Linked DNA regions of Homo sapiens: region 2 is linked to region 1. Evidence: promoter capture Hi-C in human tissues and cell types (Jung and others, 2019). All regions are on one chromosome and are shown on one strand. The core of a region is centred on a gene start or on the middle of the fragment in contact, and the rest is flanking DNA. Distances in the headings are between cores, read along the strand shown.

The links. Contacts are between HindIII fragments. The study calls those that stand out against the background at their distance.
Region 2: a fragment that was not itself captured here is called in contact with the fragment with the promoter of FAM131C in region 1 in 1 of the 25 tissues and cell types used here (aorta).

What each region holds. Positions count from the first base shown.
Region 1 is chr1:16,072,381-16,075,928 of GRCh38, forward strand. It overlaps FAM131C (family with sequence similarity 131 member C), which reads right to left and starts at 1,271. Exons shown (of 7, transcript NM_182623.3): 1 at 1,041-1,271. The coding sequence starts at 1,062. RefSeq lists a silencer at 1,166-1,325 and an enhancer at 1,534-2,033. The HindIII fragment of the contact is 22,024 bases long and covers 1-3,548 here.
Region 2 is chr1:15,875,411-15,878,733 of GRCh38, forward strand. It overlaps SPEN (spen family transcriptional repressor), which reads left to right. Exons shown (of 15, transcript NM_015001.3): 3 at 792-1,268. Among named protein-coding and RNA genes, the nearest start is that of SPEN-AS1, 29 kb to the left of the region's middle. The HindIII fragment of the contact is 3,998 bases long and covers 1-3,303 here.

The DNA.
Region 1 (3,548 bases), core at 21-2,520:
ACAAGGTCCCCTCTATTCTGGGTAAGCTACTAGGGGTGATGGGTGTGGTGGTGGTCAGTGGGTTTGGCCTCAGCCTGCAGAGCCTGAACCAAGGCCAAAGCCACCCCCACTCCCAGTCACACCCCCCTGATCCCACTGTGGGGTGAACAGACCAAGGTGGGAGAAGGGCTCAGCCCAATCGCTTGTCTAAAATGTTGCCCAACAGCCTGTTGGAAAGCTGGTGGTGATGGGTGGGGGTGGAGGTAGGGGGCTCCAAAGACCAAACTGCCCATCCCCCAATCTCTGTGCAAGACTGTGTGTCCCCTCCTCACAGATAGAAGAGGCTGGGGCCTGCCCTGGGCCCCCAGGCAAGGGCAGGTCCCCTCCACCTCCTTGGGTACCACGTGGGGGAGAGTGGAGGGTGACAGGTCAGACACAGAGAGAAAGGCCCAGGGGTAACTGGGAACATCAGCTGTGCTCTGGCCCTTCTGTCCCCTGTCCAAGGATGGGGGTGGGGAGGAGGATTAGGGGGCAGGGGAACCTTCTTTATAACCTGTGCCCCACCATTAACCCTTTCCTGCCAACAGGGTTCAGGGGCTCTGCAGATGGGGGCACCCGGTAAGACGTGGGAAGGGGCTGTGGGGGTGAGCTGGTAAGACCTGTGTCTTGGGGAGGGGTGGGAAAGGGAGGGTCTGCTAGTTCTCCCGGTGCCCGCAGTTCCTCCGGGAAGCCAGGAAGAACCAGAGCTGGTTCCCAGGCACCCGGCAGGGGGTGTGTGGCTGTAGGGATGAGAGCGCGGCACGGCACGGGACCCTGCTTCGTGTCACCTGCGGGGCTGCAAACTGGGGCGGGGATGCGGTGACCTCTGCACGTGCGCTCTCTGCGCTGCCCCCGCCCCCTACCGTCCCTAGCTCTGTCCCCCTCAGGACGCCGCGTCCCCAGGGGTGCGGCGGGGCCGTGAAGGGCGGGTCGCCAGCCCCATCCCCCAGGTCTCCGAGCGGCGAGGGGACTGCGCGGGTCCCCGGCACCCGATCCCCCCGCCCCCGGCCGGGCCCCCTCACCTCGCGACACGCAGGAGCCCATCACGGGGCCGCGGGGCCGGGCCGCTGCGCCCGGGGTGCGTGGGGCCGCGGGGCGTTCATGTCTCCGCGGGCCCGGGGCTGAGCGCTGCGGAGCCAGAGGACGGGCGGGGCGGGGGGCTCGGGCGCCCTCAGCTCGGCCTCAGCTCCAGCCTGGGTCGTCCCTGCTGCCGCCGCGCCCGGCTCGCCTCGCGCCGCCGCCTCCCGCGCAGTGCCCGCCGCTGCCAGGGGAGGGCGACACCGCGGGGCGCGGCGGGCGGGGCCCGGGGGAGCGCAGCCGGGAGGCTCGGGCACACCTGTGGCCGCAGCGCGCGGGAGGGCCATCTCTGTCCCTTCGGGGCTCCCCCACCTCCTGGGGTTGCCCGGGCTGAAGGTCAGGGAAGGGGACAGAGGGGGCGGGGAGACTCCTGGCATTTGGGGCACAAAGTAAACAACATGAATTTAACCACACCAACGACGACTGGGCACGAAGGCTTGGGAGCGAGGAGGGGTGCGCGCAAGAACAACAGTTCCATTGGGCCTATTTTTAGAGGATGAAAGTGAGGCTCGCAGAAGTTAGAGGCCTTGCCTGAGAGCCCTAAGCTGTGAGTTCAGCGACTTTTGACTGTCAGCGCCTCATTCAGAGCTATTGAAATTAACATATGCAAAATAATATATGCCCAGAGGTGGGGTAGAGAGAGTGCGGGTAGATAGTGCGCTGGTGGCCTGGCGGCGGGATGAAGGGTCTCCAGCGATGGTTGAAGAGGGGGGCAAGGCTGCCTCTCAGGGCTTGTCTAGGGCAGAGTAAACTGAGGCACAGGTTTTTTTCCCCAGCCCTGGACGGCCTCTGTAGTCATTCACACTTACTCGCACGTACCTACACACACACTCTCCCATGTGTACATACCCCTCATTCACACACTGATGGTCATACACACACATATATATGCACACTTGCATTTACATACACGCACACACACTCACATACCTACACATGAATACACAGTCTCCCATGTGTACATACCCACTCACACCCACACAATGACAGTTATACACTCACATTGAAGCACGCTTGCATTTACACACACACACACACACACACATCCCAGCTCCTGAGGTGTGAAGATCCTTTAGCAAAATTTCCCATGCACACAGCACTCAATGTCAGTGTCTGAGACCCTCACTCACACATAGCATCTCGCTCTCTCCTTCATGCCCACCTGTGCATCAGGCAGGGCAGGCACTCTTGTGTCTGTTTTCCAGTTGAGGCAGCCAGGTTCACTGGTGGCAGCAGAGAAATGTTTTGAAGAATGAATAAGGAGGGGCCAGGCGCGGTGGCCCACGCCTGTAATCCCAGCACTTTGGGAGGCCAAGGCAGGCAGATCACTTGAGGTCAGGAGTTCGAGACCAGCCTGGCCAATATGGTGAAACTCCGTCTCTACCAAAAATATAAAAAATTAGCTGGGTGTGGGCTTGGCACAGTAGTTCATGCCTGTAATCACACCACTTTGGGAGGCCGAGGTGGGCGGATCACCTGAGGTCAGGAGTTTGAGACCAGCCTAGCCAACATGGTGAAACCCCGTCTCTACTAAAAATACAAAAATTAGCCAGGCATGGTGGTGGTGGGCGCCTGTAATCCCAGCTACTCAGGAGGCTGAGGCAGGAGAGTTGCTTGAACCCAGGGTACAGTGAGCCAAGACCATGCCACTGCACTCCAGCCTGGGCTACAAGAGAGAAACTCCATCTCAAAATAAATAAATAAATAAAAAGCTAGGTGTGGTGGCACAAGCCTGTAATCCCAGCTACTCGGGAGGCTGAGGCAGGAGAATTGCTTGAACCCGGGAAAGTGGAGGTTGCAGTGAGCCGAAATCGTGCCACTACACTCCAGCCTGGTCGGCAGAGTGAGACTCTGTTTCAAAAAAAAAAAAAAAAAAAAAAAAGAATGAATAAGGTTTGAGGCAGCAGCGTGGGATAGGGCTGGAGGCCTCTCAAGGGGCAGGATCTGGGCCAGGGCGCACTGCCAGAGCAGCTGAGCCAGGGAGTGGGTGCTGACTTCTTTCTCTTTCTCTAAGCTAGGTGCTCTCTGCCCAGTAAAGTCCGGGTGGAGAGCGGTTCTGTGCCTGGCCCTGGTGTCAGCAGACCTGGGTGAATGAGGGCTTAGCTCACACAAGCTGTGCGACCTTGGGTAAGTTGCTTCGCCTCTCTGAGTCTCAGATTTTTCATCTGTTAACTTAGGGTAAAAATCCCACCTCGTGGGATTGCTGTGAGGGCTGATGAAATTAATATATGCAAAATCACTGGCACGTAGTAGGTACTCAACTTAGGACTAAAAATAAATAATAGTGATAGTGAACACAAACAGGTATGATGTGTTATTACTCCACCACAGCTTCCCGACAGCCACAGGGAAGTCTGAGAACTTCCGTTCAACAGATGCATATAAAGCACCTACTGTGTGCCAGTGTGAACAAGACAAATGTGCCAATCCTTGAGTCAGCGCTGTATTCAGTC
Region 2 (3,323 bases), core at 55-2,554, 200 kb before region 1:
ATACATTAAGAAATTGAATCATGGAATAGGCATTTTTAAAGTCATTTGGAATTTGATAGCACAGGAGTAAATAATTTTTATTTTTATTTAAATTCACATAGAGTAGCATGTGGTAACCCAATATTTTGATACTTGAAGTGGTTTTTTTTTGAGATTCTATTTTTATTATTAAATGTAATTGGGTACCGCTGTGCAGTCTATGTAGTCTAGTTTATGTAGTCCAGTAATTTTTTATAACTATCCAAGCAGTCAAAACTTAATGAAAAAAAGTTAAACTTAGAAAATTTTTTCTGGACTTCTTGAAAGTCCTTCCTATTGTTGAGACATGCGCTGCAGCAGGGCTTTCATGTCTAAGTTAAAACATAGCATGGAAATGTGGCCTAAAAGAAATTTGTGAGTAAATAAAATTTGGTATATACTTTAATCAGATGAAAGTGTAAAAACTTTCATATTATTAAAATAGTCTCTTGTTCCGTTAACATGAAAAGGAGATTGTATATTTATGTATGCAAGTCAGAAAATCTCTAATAAAGTAAGCAAGTGAGCTGCAGAACACTAGTCATGAAAGCCCAATATACAATGAAAACAATGATTGCTCAGCTGTGAAAATAATTTTTGGAGTCAAGTAAAATGTTAAGCTTGTTAGCGTTTGCTTATTAAGTAGGTTAATGCTGTTTAGAAAATGACCAGTTGCAAAGACAAAGACAATGCTGAAGTGAATGTTTGCATGACTTGCTTTTAGTTTTGCTTGCTCCTTTCTGATTAAATATTTTTCCCCCTCCTAAATGCAGGGCTTCAGATAACAGGGAGCGTGCTTATGAACATAGTGCCTATGGACACCATGAACGGGGGACGGGAGGATTTGATCGGACAAGACATTACGATCAGGATTACTATAGAGATCCTCGAGAGCGGACTTTACAACATGGGCTCTATTACGCTTCTCGGAGTCGAAGTCCAAATCGCTTTGATGCTCATGACCCCCGATATGAACCTAGGGCTCGCGAGCAGTTTACACTGCCCAGTGTGGTACACAGGGATATCTACAGGGATGATATTACCCGGGAGGTACGAGGCAGAAGGCCAGAGCGGAATTACCAGCACAGCAGGAGTCGGTCACCACATTCATCCCAGTCTAGAAATCAGTCTCCTCAGAGACTGGCTAGCCAAGCATCTAGACCCACAAGGTCCCCTAGCGGCAGCGGCTCTAGAAGTAGATCCTCCAGTAGTGATTCAATCAGCAGCAGCAGTAGTACCAGCAGTGACAGGTAGGTTAACAGCCTTTTGTTATAACAGATGAGCTAGCTTTAAACAAATTCTCAACAATCAGTGGGAATGGTTTCAGCATAGTATTATTTTTTAAAGTAATCTTGGATCATATATGTATGTAATCAGTAAAGAAACTGGCATGTGGCCATTGAATTAACTGTTCTAAGTACTCGAAGTTAAGTGATGATTTGCAAAGTTCTGTTTCATCCTCCAGATGCACAGTATTAAAATTAAATGATCAAAGTGGAAGGGAGGTGGTGACTCTAGCTGTGCAAGGCAAATCTTGTGACACTGAAAATATGGTATCTCTTTAACATTTTTAATTTTGTAGGTGTATAATACCAATTTATTTCTATTATTTTGATTGAAGATTTGTAAAAGCTGTTTGGTTAAATATGTATTGGTGAAATATAATATTGTTGACACATTTATTATCAATGACTAGATCAACTTATGAACAAATTTTAGCTAATTTTAACATCAGGGTGGTAGCCAATTTATAAACTCAAGTAGAAAAGCTTCCTTTGAATGCAGGTTGTAACTTTACTGTTCTGTAAACTGATCTCACTAGTTGAGAATTTCTTTCTACAAATATATATATATATTTTAAAGACAGTCTCACTGTGTCACCAAGGCTGGAGTGCAGTGGTGTAGCCTTGGCTCACGGCAACCTCTGCCTTCTGGGTTCCAGCAGTCCTCCTGCCTCAGCCTCCCAAGTAGCTGGGATTACAAACGTGCGCAACCACGCCTGGCTAATTTTGTATTTAGTAAAGATGAGGTTTTGCCATGTTGGCCAGGCTGTTCTTGAACTCCTGACCTCAAGTGATTTGCCCACCTCATCCTCCCAAATTGCTGGGATTACAGGCATGAGCCAGAGTGCCCAGCCAAAAAGTTTTATTTGAAAAGCGAAAATAGTAAGTTGAGGGTAATCTTAATAAGAAACTTAGCTTCAAACCTAGTTATATGGATTTTGAAATCACAGATCTGGGTATGTGGTATAGATTATCCTTTAAGTAATCTAGGATAAGTTATTTATGTTCTTCAGGTCTCAGCTTTCCCTTTTTTTTTTTTTTTTTTTTTTTGAGATGGAGTCTCGCTCTTGTCACCTAGGCTGGAGTGCAATGGCGTGATCTTGGCTCACAGCACCCTCCACCTCCTGGGTTCAAGTGAGTCTTCTGCCTCAGCTTCCCATGTAGCTGAGATTACAGGCACCCATCACCATGCCAGGCCAATTTTTGTATTTTTAGTAGAAACGGGGTTTTACCGTGTTGGCCAGGCTGGTCTCTAACTCCTGACCTCAGGTGATTCACCTGCCTTGGCCTCCCAGAGTGTTGGGATTACCAGTGTGAGCTACTGCGCCTGGCCAAGCTTTCTCATTTTTAATAAGGACCTTAATAAAGTTATTGTGAAAATTAAAATGAACACTTAATGTAAAATGCTTACTTTGATACCTAGTATATGTTAAAAAAAATGCTGCTATTCAATTTGTTAATCCCACATGTCCTGCTTTTCAATTTAGGTGGTATATATTTAAAATTTACAGTCAAATTCTTTGACCTGATTAAAAGGCTCAGATTACTTTTCTTTTGCCTGCTTAAAATTAATTTAAGCAAATGGTCATGTAGTTGAATGTCTGTTTTTAGGCTTCCTGAATTTTCTTATTCAAAATAATACATGAAAACATTTTGTTTATCCCTCTGCCTATCTAGATATAATTCAAACATTCTGGAAGATTTGCATATTAAAATGAAACAAGCACCTAGTTTAGAAAGTCATGAAAGTTACGTTCTATGCCCAGCTTTCAAGCCGTGTGACATGGATGAAAACTCTTAACTTCTTTTGATTTTATTTGGTGTGCTGTCTAGATAAATGATTGATGAAATTCATTTGAACCCTATAAACTAATTATAAAATCTTGTTCCACTTTTTTTTCTGCATAGAATTGTCTAAAATGCTCAAGTTTTAGTCATTTTCCATAAACCTACCTCATTAAAAAGCTGCATCTGCATTCCACTGGATCAAAACTTATTGAAAAGGTGTTGAGGCACTGGGCG